3 separate regions of the Homo sapiens genome follow, and regions 1 and 3 are each linked to region 2. The links are contacts of gene promoters, found by promoter capture Hi-C in human tissues and cell types (Jung and others, 2019). All regions are on one chromosome and are shown on one strand. Each heading gives the region's core, a stretch centred on a gene start or on the middle of the fragment in contact. The rest is flanking DNA. Distances are from core to core; before and after follow the strand shown.

Region 1 (3,844 bases), core at 987-3,486, 690 kb after region 2:
TTCTCCTAATCTGAGTCCTCATTTTGACCAAAATATTTCTGAACTCTTTTACCCTGAAAAGATTTTAAATGTTTTAAAAATATCAGTGGTATTCCCCAAATTACATTTTCACACCAAAGTACAGTCTTTACCAAGACTATCCTGAAGACAATGAGAACAGTTAGCTTACTCATTTTATAGAGAGCAAGGCTCAAAAAATGACCAGGGACACCAGAAAGTCAACATGAAATGAAAGGTCTTTCAGTTTTAGTGTTACATTCATTAAAATAATAAACTAATATTGGTATTTTATACTCTAGCAATGGATGAGAATTTTTTATTTACTGTGTCCTCAAGCAAAAATATTGCTAGTTGTATTTAATCTGTAAAATTTAAAAGCAGAGTAGATAAAATAGCAGTTAAAGGTAGACAAAATAGCAGTTAGGAGTACAGAGTCTGACCACAGATCAGATGGGTTTGAATCTTGGCTCTGCCATTTACAAACTGTGCAAAGAATCTTAACTTCTCCGTCCCTCTGTGGCTAGTCCTGCCTTCTTTGGCTGGCTGTTTATGAGGATCAAATAAGATACAATGATTAGCATAAAGCCTGGCATATAACACACAAAACTCAAAAATGTTTATTTTTTTGTGTGAAAAAAATTTTAAAGTATTTCTTAAAGCAGAATCTTCCAAGGATAAAGGGCTATGCTATCTTAATATAACTGGAGTTGCAGTCATGAGTTTCAGTCAGTGATGGACCACATATATGTTGGTAGTCACATAAGGTTCTAAGGGAACTAAAAAAAATTCCTATCACCTAGTAACACTGTAGCCATCATGCAGTGTTAGCCATCATACACAATGTAGACATCATACATAATGCAAAGCATTACTCACATATTTGTGGTGATACTGGAAAAAAAAACCCTACTGTGCCGCCAGTTACATAAAAGTATAGTTACATAATACTTGATAATAATAAACTACTATATTACTGGTTTATGTATCTACTATCCTATACTTTTTATCATTATTTTACACTGTACTCCTTCTACTTATTTTTTTTTTCAAAGTTAGAAAGAGCCTCAGGCAGCTCTTTCAGGAGGTATTCCAGAAGGCATTGTTATCATAGGAGATGACAGCTCCATGCTTGTTACTGCCTCTGAAGACCTTCCAGTGGGACAAGATGTGGAGGTAGAAGACAGTGATATCAATTATTCTGACCCTGCGTAGGCCTAGGATAAGGTGTGTGTTTCTCAGTCTCCTTTGCTAGTGCATCCTTTTCTTTAACTTCTGTACCTCTAATTCTTTGAGGACTCCAGGACTTAGTCCTGGTACCTTTTCTCTTATTTTTATCTAAGCTCACTTCATTAGTAATCTCATTCATATTATGTTTTCTTAAGATGAGATACATCTATAACTTACATGTTTCACTATAACCCTCAAATAAGGTCAACCATAGATAATTCTACTAATATTCGGTGAGGCAGCTACAAATAAAAAACAAATTCAAATAGAAACAACATAATTAAAAATAAGTGACTTAATTTTCAATAAATCATCACCATCTTTCTGTAGTTTAAGTTCAATATGATTGGTATAGTCACTTAAAATTCAAAATAATAAAGCTAAATTGATGATAACCAAAACAAATATTTGTTTATTCTAGTCACTGATTACATTGGAAACATTTACATACCACACTGAGTATTTAATGAAAAACGTAAATCATGATTTTGTCTACGGTCCTAGTTCCCTAGCCTTAAAATTTAACAGTAGCATCTTATGTTAATATAGACTTTTTCCAAAAGCCCTTTTATAACAATTATCTCTTATACCTCAAAGAATATTTAATTAGAATAGTAAAATAAATACTATTTTCACCACACTTTCTGGTCCTAACATGACCTCTCACATAACAGTTAATAACGAGTGAATTTAATTAAAATTGTTGAGGAACTCATAAATCCATCCCTACTATATGAAATACATATTGAAATTCATGTTTAACTGATAAGAAGTCATTAATGTCATCTTTCTGTACTTAGTATAGCATTACCAAAAAATTTACATTTTATTTTTAATGCTAATGAATGAAATTAAGTTCTGTATGTACAAATCCTCTGAAAGACATGCTCTATTTCATTTCCTTCTGTGATAGTGAAAATGGTGATTTTTATGATGTTAACACTACTGTATATGAGGCATGCAGTTGTGCACTGCCTCTATCACAATGAAAAAGACTTGCTTTTGCAAGCAAGAAGAATACATTTTAAAATACAGGAATCAGCAGCAATACATAACCACCTTCATCCCTCCAAGATTCCCACTTCAAATGATGTGGCTTTACTACTTGCCAAGCCTAGAGCAACTGTTAGAAGTATATAGACAAGAGCAAGGCTTTTAAAACTGGACCCCATCTCTCTCGAGTACTCCACTGCCAGTACTTCCAGTCCTGAGGAGTAGCACCTTTCCTTCTACTACTAAGCACATCAAGTGTCTGTGCACAGACTTTTTTAATAGTTCTGCCTATGAGATCTCCATCTCCGAAGTGTCTCTTTCTGACATGAATATTCTACCCTATCCATTCATTGCCTCATTATTATAAAACAACTTTGTCCTTACCAAGTTCCTGCAATCCTGTCATTCTCCTCTACTTTCAAAACCATCAACACACTTTTGCTTTGCTTCCCTTCCTACTCACTAGCATCTCACATTCCTCTTCAGAGATCTGGCCAGACCACAAGGCCTTATCCCCTGTCCCAACAGAACAGTCATATTAAGAATGCAACACATTATATCCTTTGATCACAACTTCAGCATCCTCTTCTGTCTCTCCTTTTTCTTTCCACTAAATGTTAGGCATCAACAGTTTTGTTATACCTAGTTCTACACTTTCTCCTCTTCATAAATCCATCACTGCTAGATCTTTAACCATCAATTCTAAATTACTTACACAAACTTAAACAATCAACCCTAACAGTCCTGACAATATATACTCCTGTGCTATCAGTCTGCCAGACAGCTCCACAGGGACATCTCACTAACTCAAATTCAAAATATCCAAAATCAAATTCATTATCCATCATTCCCCACTCTCCCCAAAAAGGAAACTTATTCTTTGGGCTTCTCTATTTCTAGTAACAGCACCAAATCACTTAGGATTTGAGATCATCTTTAAATTAAAGCAAAGTACTGGATTCTCCATTAACCAGTTCAGTCAACTTTCAAATGTATGCAAATTGCTGGTAAAACAGTTGCATCTCATCAAAAGGACACAATACAGCCATTTTCATTCAACTCCTTTGATGGTACACAAATCTGATACACTGCACATGACTTGAACTCTGAAATCAGTCCCCAACACTCACCTCCAGTATTGCGACCTAACAAGTAAATCAAAATAATCCCATTTTTTCATTACATCTAGAGGAAGCTTAAGTCAGGGGTAAGCCCAAGGCAGTTAAATTTTAGTGACTATTGTAAAAAAATTCTGTAGTGGTCTATACTTAAAACTTAGTTTCCACCACAAATAATGAGAATCATACTTCTTCACAGGGTTGTTGTGAGGATTAAATCAAATACGTAAGATATTTAGTACAATGCCTAGCATATACAGGTGCTCAAAATGTTTCCAAAATTAAGAAACCAAACAGCAAATCCATGAAGCTCAGAGATCATCAACCACGATAAATACCAGAAAATCTACACCTAGGCATGTGATGTTCAAACTGCAGAAAACCAAAGACAAAGAAAAATTTTGAAAGACAGAGAGAAACCACTTTACCTATAGAGGGACAAGGATAAAAATTAGATTGGACTTCTCCTCGGTAATCATACAAAAAGAGAGGCAAACTAGGACAAC
Region 2 (3,790 bases), core at 902-3,401:
TCATTACCTGTGTGGCTCCTCTGGTGGATTGCTAAAAAGTGATTGTACTTAAAGACCTTGCCACAGTCTTTACAGCGGGCCTCAGGGCCTCCAGGGCGCTTTCTCCTTCCACAGATCCTCTTGGCTGAACCATGGTCCTCTTGATCCCCAACAAGTTTGTAATCTTTAAGTTTGACGGATCTCCAAATCCTCCGCTTGCTGTATCGACTCTGGCTTGCCTGGCCATCCTCGGTCTTGGGATCATAGTTCTCATCTTTTTCAACTGGCATTTCCTCCTCTCTACTTGGCTCACAAGTAGGCTCCGATTCTTCCTTTTCTTTTGCTGCAATTTGCTCATTCAGTACACCACTGTCTCCTTTAACCACAAAGTTTTGTCTATTCTGAACTGAATTGTTCACTCTTAACTGTATTTCTTCCTCTGCAGCCAGTTCTGATTTCTCCTCCTGCAATGTATTGACTTTTTTTGGTCTTCCCCGTTTCCGCTTTGGAGGATCGTTTTTCTTATTAGAGATAACAACCACTGGGGCACCAGCAGTGTTCAAAGTTGTTGGCTTTGGGGAGCTATGATTATTTTGGAAGTCTGTGTAAGCCTTTACCAGGTCATAGACTTTTAAGAACTGAGCAGTAGCCAGGATTTGTTCTGTACTTTTCTCACTGGCATGGAGATAACCTGTGTAGATAAATTCCAGCAGGATACCAAAGGTGTCTGCAACCATGCCTTCCAGCATATAAATGGATTGGCCGATTTCCCCCTCTTCTGCAAACATCATTGAGAAGTATTCACTACTGGCAGCAAGTAAGGCTTTGTGGGCCCGGAAATGTACATTCTCCACGATTAAAGTAATGTCACAGAGGAAGCCTTTCTTCCTCTGATCCTCAAAACTGGCCAGCACAGTGTCACTGTGAGCGTCTGAGTGTACAACAAGCTGCCCAGAAGGCTCTGGCGATGTTTCTGCCATTTTCTTCAGAAGCCACTAAGGGTTAAATCTGAAATAAGAAAACAAGGTTTAAAAAGGAGAAAGCACTGTCTAAAAGGTTAATGCCAGCCCACATGAACTTCCTATTCACTTCACATCATTAACTGAATTTTACCATTACCATTTTTGTCTGTCTACAAACTTAGCTCTGGGCCCGGGCGCAGTGGCCTCACGCCTGTAATCCCAGCACTTTGGGAGGCCGAGGCCGACGGATCACTTGAGACCAGCCTGGGCAACATGGAGAGAATTCATCTATACAAAAAATACAAAAATTAGCCTGGCGTGGTGGCGCCCGCCTGTGGTCCCAGCTACTCAGGAGGCTGCGGCAGGAGCATCACCTGAGCCTGGGAGTTCGAGGTTGCCGTGAGCCGTGATCGTGCCACTGCACTCCAGCCTGGGCGACAGAACGAGACCACCACCTCAAAAAACAAAAACAAAACAACTTAGCTCGCGGTTTTTTTTTTTTGAGACGGAGTCTCGCTCTATCGCCCAGGCTGGAGTGCAGTGGCGCAATCTCGGCTCACTGCAACCTCCGCCTCCCAGGTTCAAGCAATTCTCTCCCTCAGCCTCCTGCCGCACATTAACTAGCTGAGTGACTCTCCAGTATTCATGGAACGGTTCAGGGTCTACCTTCTATAAAATGAAGGAATGGGATTAACCATCTCCAAAATCCTCCGCAAGCACGAACTTTCTATGGTTGCACAACTATTTCAGGGAGAACGAAGCTGCCTCCATCTCCCAGATTATTAGCCATTTCGTATGTGGGAACCAATGTGAAGAGTGAAGAAATGTGCACGTGCAAAGTGAATGTGAGGTAGCTGCAATAAAATACTAATAACTTAAGCTGCGTGGGGCCGCCAGACACACTAGGGGCGGCGCGGAGCCCCCCGCAGCCCCGGGTGGTCCCAGCAGGGAGAGGTGGCGCGGAAAGACCCCCACCTCCCCGCCCAGGCCCCGCGGGCCCGACTGGGGAGCACACGGCGGGGGAGGGGTCGGCGCGGCAGACCTACCGCTCAGGGGCGCCCGGTGGGGTCCGGGTCGCTGCCAACTCACCCGGCGGCCTGGCGGGAGACCCACGCCGGGGCCCGCTGGCCCTCCGCTCCGCCCCGCCCGCCTCTGGGGCTTCTGCGCCGCACCGGTTTCTGCTCCTGCGCCGCCGCCGCAGCCACAGCCACAGCCAACCCGGAAGCGCGGCGCCAAGAGCCGCTTGCGCGCGGACGCCGAACCACGTGGCCCGCAGAGGCGCCCCTGGAGGTGGGGGCCACGAGAGCGGCGGGGAGGGGAAGGGAGGTGAGGGGCGGGGCGGGGCGAGATGGCGGGGCGGGGCGGGGCGGGGCAAGGCGGGGCAAGGCAGGGCAAGGCGGGGCGCGAAGGCAGTTCAAGGGTTGGGGCGTGGCAGGGGAGGGGAGGGGCAAGGCGGGGCGAGAATGCAGGCCTGGGGTCGGGGGAGCCGCGGCGGGGCGGGGCAGGGCGGGGCGAGATGGCAGGCCCGGGGCTTTGGGGCCGGGGCCGGGGCCGGGGCCGGGGCAGGGCGGGGAGGGGCGCGGCTTCGGAGGAGGGACAGTGGCCGGGGCGGGGCGCGGCCAGGGGCGGGGCGGTGTCGGCGCCCGAGGTCCTGCGTGTGGCACTGCCGGGGAGCCCAGGCAGGAGCGACTTTTGCGGTGAATTGGGGGCAATGGACAGGAGAGGCGTTGTGACCCCTCCCTTTGGGAAGTTTTATATCGTATTAAACTGTTAGCTCAACGCCAATACCTTAATTTTATCTCTTCTCCGACACCGAATCTGGTGTTGTTCTTGAATGTATAAAGGCATGAAATCCCCCTTACCGTCATCATCATTGTCATCATCATCACCATCGTCATTATCTAGTGCTAATATAATAACTATTACTTACCTCCTAAATGTTTTTCACATCTGCCTCCTTTTCCTCCCCACTCCTGATGCCTTAGTCTAAGGGAATGAAGAGAGCACTGCAGTCAGAGAAACCTGGGTTCTGAGAGATCTTGGGCAAATTACTTACCCTCACAACTTCTTTACCTTACCTGTAAAATGGAGATGTTAACACTAGTGCCACTTTGGTAGGGTTGCTATTGCATAAACAAAATTAAGTATGTAATGGGCTTAGGAAATGCCTGGTTTAATTCGTCTGCTGTGATTAAAATGATCATTATTATTCAAACTTTCATCATCTTTGTTCAATAGACTGTTTCTAACTGGTCTCAGCTGCAGCGTTGTTCTCTTTAATTCGCAGAAGTACAGAGGATTTCTCCAAGTACATATGAGATCCAGAGACTAGAGTCACTCCTTGGCTTAGAATCCATGTGGCTCCCACATGCCCTCTGGATAAAGTCCAGGCTTCTTAATGTGGTCTACAAGCCCCATCCAGATCTACTCCCCACCTGCTTCCATCCATTTATTTCAGCATTTTCTCTCTCTTAGCCAATACCTAATTACTTATTTTTCTGCCCATTTCCAGATTCCCAACATGCCATCTATAGCCTCCCTGATCTTGAACCGGAGGTGTAATTAGCAACCTGGCTCTTACATTTTTACTAGATTTTATTAAAACTAGCTCAAGCCACACATGCTCCTTCTCTGAGGTTTCCCTTTCATATTGAATTGTCTCTAAGTCCTCTGGATTTGTGGGGGTACAAGTGGGATGGGGAGCGCTCCCTGACTTCTGCATACCAGCAGGAAGTTAGCTACCTCATTGTTTCTTGCTGCTACGAGGGTTGCAGTCAAATCACTGTCCCTCCAGAGGTCCTCAACGGCATAAGAAGACTCAGTGCCAAGGTAAGCCAGGTACTTCCATT
Region 3 (3,858 bases), core at 498-2,997, 840 kb after region 2:
GTTCAAGACCAGCCTGGCCAACATGGCAAAACCCTATCTCTACTAAAAATACAAAAATTAGTCGGGCATGGTGACAGGCTCCTGTAATCCCAGCTACTCGGGAGGCTGAGGCAGGAGAACCACTTGAACCTGGGAGGCAGAGGTTGTAGTGAGCTGAGATTGTGCCACTGAACTCCAGCCTGGGTAACAGAGGGAGACTCTGTCTCTGAAAAAAGAAAAGAAAAGAAAAGAAAAATTTTCTCCTCTCAGCCCATAGTTTCTGGGAAAGATCCAAGAGAGATCTAAAAATGACCATTTCATGCCTCAATAGCTTCTTCTAAGCAAACATGCCTTTTATAAGTTATGGAACATTAACATGAAATACATATAGAATGGAATTTGGTAGCTTGCATTACATAAATTTATTTTGGCGAGTGAAGCCCATAGTTCTCAAATCCGATTCATAAAATTAAAACCTCTTATTTTCTTCTGGAGCCTTTAAGGGCTTTTGAAAATCACAGTTAAAAGGTCCAGATTCTTATCGTTCATGTAAAATCAAACTACAAAACTAAAATTTCAGTATTTTAATTAAGTCTGCCTAAGTCCATCAAATTAATTTGCAGCAGCAAAATAAGATAAAATCATGAGAAGCACAGGGACTAATTCAACAGCCCATCACTCATGATTAATTCAACAAGCTTTTACGTCCATGTTTGGGTGACAAATACTAAAATTCCTATGATTGTCTCACTGCATTATATGATAAATGAGACTTTCTTTTACCCCTAAACTAACTAACCTCCTAAAGATCTGGAAATATATTCTCTCCTACGGAGGAAAAGCGCTTTGCTGCCAGAGAGGCTGGGGAGGAGAACAGGGATGTCAAGAGTGGGCTTGAGGGAGATTCTAAAAATCCAGGATCCCCCGTGCAGCACCAGCTCCACTGTGCAGCTTCCTGAGTGGGCCTCTGTGCAGCTCACAGGCAGTCTGAGCTGCTAATTTGCTAGCACCTCTCAGTTCAGGGCTAAATTTCCCTTGGGCCTTGATTTCCTTTTCTGTCTCTCTTTCCCCCTGGGATCAGGCAACTTGAGAATGGAACCTTCTGATTAACATGTCAAGAGCCATAGACTGTCTTAATGGACAGTCTCTTTGCCTGCTCGGGGCACTGGCTCAGCCTGGAGCTGGGCAGGAACTACCACAATGTGTTAAGTCACTAATAAAGGCCCGTGCTCAGTAATGATTTCAAGTGCTCTGAGATAGAGAGCCTTTGGATTCATTAACTCCTCAGCACACTGCCTGCAAAGCCTCCTCTGCTCTCTTGCCTAGCACATCCCTGGCTGCCAAGCATCTGTGACAGAAGAGTGGAAAGGCAAGTTCCTCCAAATACAAAATGGTGCTTGAACCTCTAGATGATGGTTTTGTTTTGTGACATACTCGACTGCCTACTCACGGGGACCAATCTGTCATTTCAAATGGTTTTCCAAAGCAATTTTCTAAAGTGGATCTTTAAAACACTTTGGGATGAATCATTTAAACATTTCAGGTTGGTGACACTCTTGGAGGAAGGAACATGCCCTAGCAAATGGAAGGTATCTTATCTGCCTCCAAGTGAGTGGATGAGTTTAAGCAACAATGCCTCTGAACACACTTCCCCATCAAGTCCTCATCAGGAGTCGCTGAGAACCTCCCCCACCTCCTTCTTTCAAAAGAGGCAATCAGGATCTTTCACATTCTTCTCTAACTTCTTTGAGCCTGAAACACAACCTGGGTGGTGCTGATATATCTCAGGAACCTCCAGGCTTCTTCATCCAGGGACTGAGCAGAGCCTGCCCAAGGCTGGAGATCTATATGCCACCGGGGACCCTGCAAGAGACAGAAAACATAGGTTGTGTGTAAGGAAGAGGAACTGGGTGGGAGGAGAAGGACACAGTATCAGAGAGGAAGCAAGGCTGCTTTGGCTGTCAGCAAAACACACACATATGCACACAGGCAGCAGGAGGCTCTTTGCGAGCTGCTGTCATTAAGGCCACATCAGTCGCAGGGAGACAAATGAGGCCGGAGACAGCACAACTCCCAGGTTGGGGAATTTGCAGGAGAATGCAAAGGCCCCAGGACTGTCTGACTCTGCATGTATGATCAAAGGCAAACTCCACTTGACCCCATTGGGCTCTCCCTTAACTGCAGCTTATTTTATATGAGGCTGTGCTCCTCCGGGAAAAGAAACTCCCTTATCGACGACAGTCTCCCAAAGCTTAGAGCTTCAAGAATATGTGCCTCTCTAAACAAAGCACCATAATGCTGGGGGCTTGTCTTTGTTCTGGGCATTTGTTTATCTTCCTCAGTGCAGGGAGATGGGACCACGGCCCTTGGCTGCTGGGACCCTGCACAGGCAGAGCGAGGACCCCAGAACTGTCATCACCAGGGCTGGGGAGGGTGGCTTTCTAGCACTGTGAGGCAGCCACCACCTGTTAGCAGAGGTTACGAGGTGCTCCCAAGAACAGAGTGGTTAAGGATGACCCGCTCAGCCCCCTTTTGTAGCAAGGATGGGTGGATGAAGGGTTGGGGGAATGCAATGGTCTGGAGGAAACAAAAATGGTAGCCCCTCCAGTAAAAAGGGGGCACTAGTCAGGAAATCCTTATTAGAGCTCAAAACTCCCACCTATAGTTGTCAACACCAAGAGACCTCCAGGAGGTTTGCTGCAATTCCCAGGGGTGGGGACGGCTCGTGCAGGGTAGGGAAGGGCTGGGGGAAGGGAGAGCTCCAGCAGCTGGCGGGGTCAATGTCTAGTGCCAGGAAAGGCTTTGGGCGTCATAGCATAGGTTTCCTGCAGTGTAGTGAGAATGGGCCCCTAAACCCCTTTTTATATGGTGAGGAAGTAGGCAGGGGAGGGTTCTGGGGGCAAGATAAAGGGATCATTCACATATACACAGTGTTCTCCAGTCAGGTACTGTGGTGGGAACTCTCAGCACCCAAGAAAGAAACATCTAGACAGGCCAGCCGTGAGATGCTTTAGTACAAATGTGGTTTGTTGCCCCTAGATGGGGTGGCCTAGGTGACTCGGGGTTACATAGAAAACAGGAAAGTAGTGGGGAACAAGGTTAGTCTATGTGAAGCCAGACGGTCTGGGTTTGGGGAAGAGGAATCCATTCTCACTTGGGCGTCTGAGATCAATACCAGCGCTTTGGAAGTGATCAAGGGTTATTCAGTTTTGGCATTATTAGACACACATCATTGCAGAATCCCTGTAGAGCCCACAGTCTCACATCCCCACAGCCTGTACTACCCTTGTGGGGGCTGAGCCTCACGCAGTCCCTCTAGATTGAAGGAGGCCTCCCTGGTTTCCCGCAGACTGCCTCTTTTTTCAGGAACCCATAGGGCAGGGCCAGCTGTATGGGCATGCAACCTGTGCAGTCTTAGGAGGCCATGCTCAGTTTAATGCTCTGCTGATGCTGTCTCGAAATTCTTAGTAATTTTATTATTTTTTTTATTACTGCTCCTTGCAGAGCAGGGCTAACTCACAGGCAGTGTGCCTAGAGTCAGTCAAAATTCTTAAAAATTTTTGAACAAAAGGCCCTGCATTTCATTTTATACTGGGCCCACGAATCATGTAGCCAGTCTTCCCTGAGGGACACCTTCTGAAAGAACAGCCTTTTCTTGTAGCTCTTCTTGTTCTGTGCAGGCTGAGCAGGCAGAGACTCTAGTAAGAGAGCTGGAGAACATTAAGTCATACATCTTTCCAGTTAATGCCTCCCACACCCTCATTTCTTTTTTCCTTCTCTGAATTCGATGTTGATTACCATTTGGTCAAACAATATTTATTGAGCCTTAGCCACTCTGTGCCAGGCACTGGTAAATAGAGATATGACTAAAACCCAGGC

Evidence for each region. Contacts are between HindIII fragments. The study calls those that stand out against the background at their distance.
Region 1: a contact is called between a fragment that was not itself captured here and the fragment with the promoter of ZBTB24 in region 2, in 1 of the 25 tissues and cell types used here (hippocampus).
Region 3: a fragment that was not itself captured here is called in contact with the fragment with the promoter of ZBTB24 in region 2 in 1 of the 25 tissues and cell types used here (H1 embryonic stem cells).

What each region holds. Positions count from the first base shown.
Region 1 is chr6:110,166,264-110,170,107 of GRCh38, forward strand. The region is part of intron 2 of WASF1 (WASP family member 1); the gene reads right to left. Among named protein-coding and RNA genes, the nearest start is that of WASF1, 11 kb to the right of the region's middle. The HindIII fragment of the contact is 5,875 bases long and covers 1-3,844 here.
Region 2 is chr6:109,481,068-109,484,857 of GRCh38, forward strand. It overlaps ZBTB24 (zinc finger and BTB domain containing 24), which reads right to left and starts at 2,152. Exons shown (of 7, transcript NM_014797.3): 1 at 2,031-2,152; 2 at 8-987. The coding sequence starts at 959. It overlaps ZBTB24-DT (ZBTB24 divergent transcript), which reads left to right and starts at 2,577. Exons shown (of 4, transcript NR_187591.1): 1 at 2,577-3,770. RefSeq lists an enhancer at 1-144 and silencers at 1,843-2,132, 2,213-2,652. The HindIII fragment of the contact is 15,822 bases long and covers 1-3,790 here.
Region 3 is chr6:110,321,031-110,324,888 of GRCh38, forward strand. It overlaps METTL24 (methyltransferase like 24), which reads right to left. Exons shown (of 5, transcript NM_001123364.3): 2 at 1,744-1,842. Among named protein-coding and RNA genes, the nearest start is that of METTL24, 35 kb to the right of the region's middle. RefSeq lists an enhancer at 1,810-2,417. The HindIII fragment of the contact is 6,552 bases long and covers 1-3,858 here.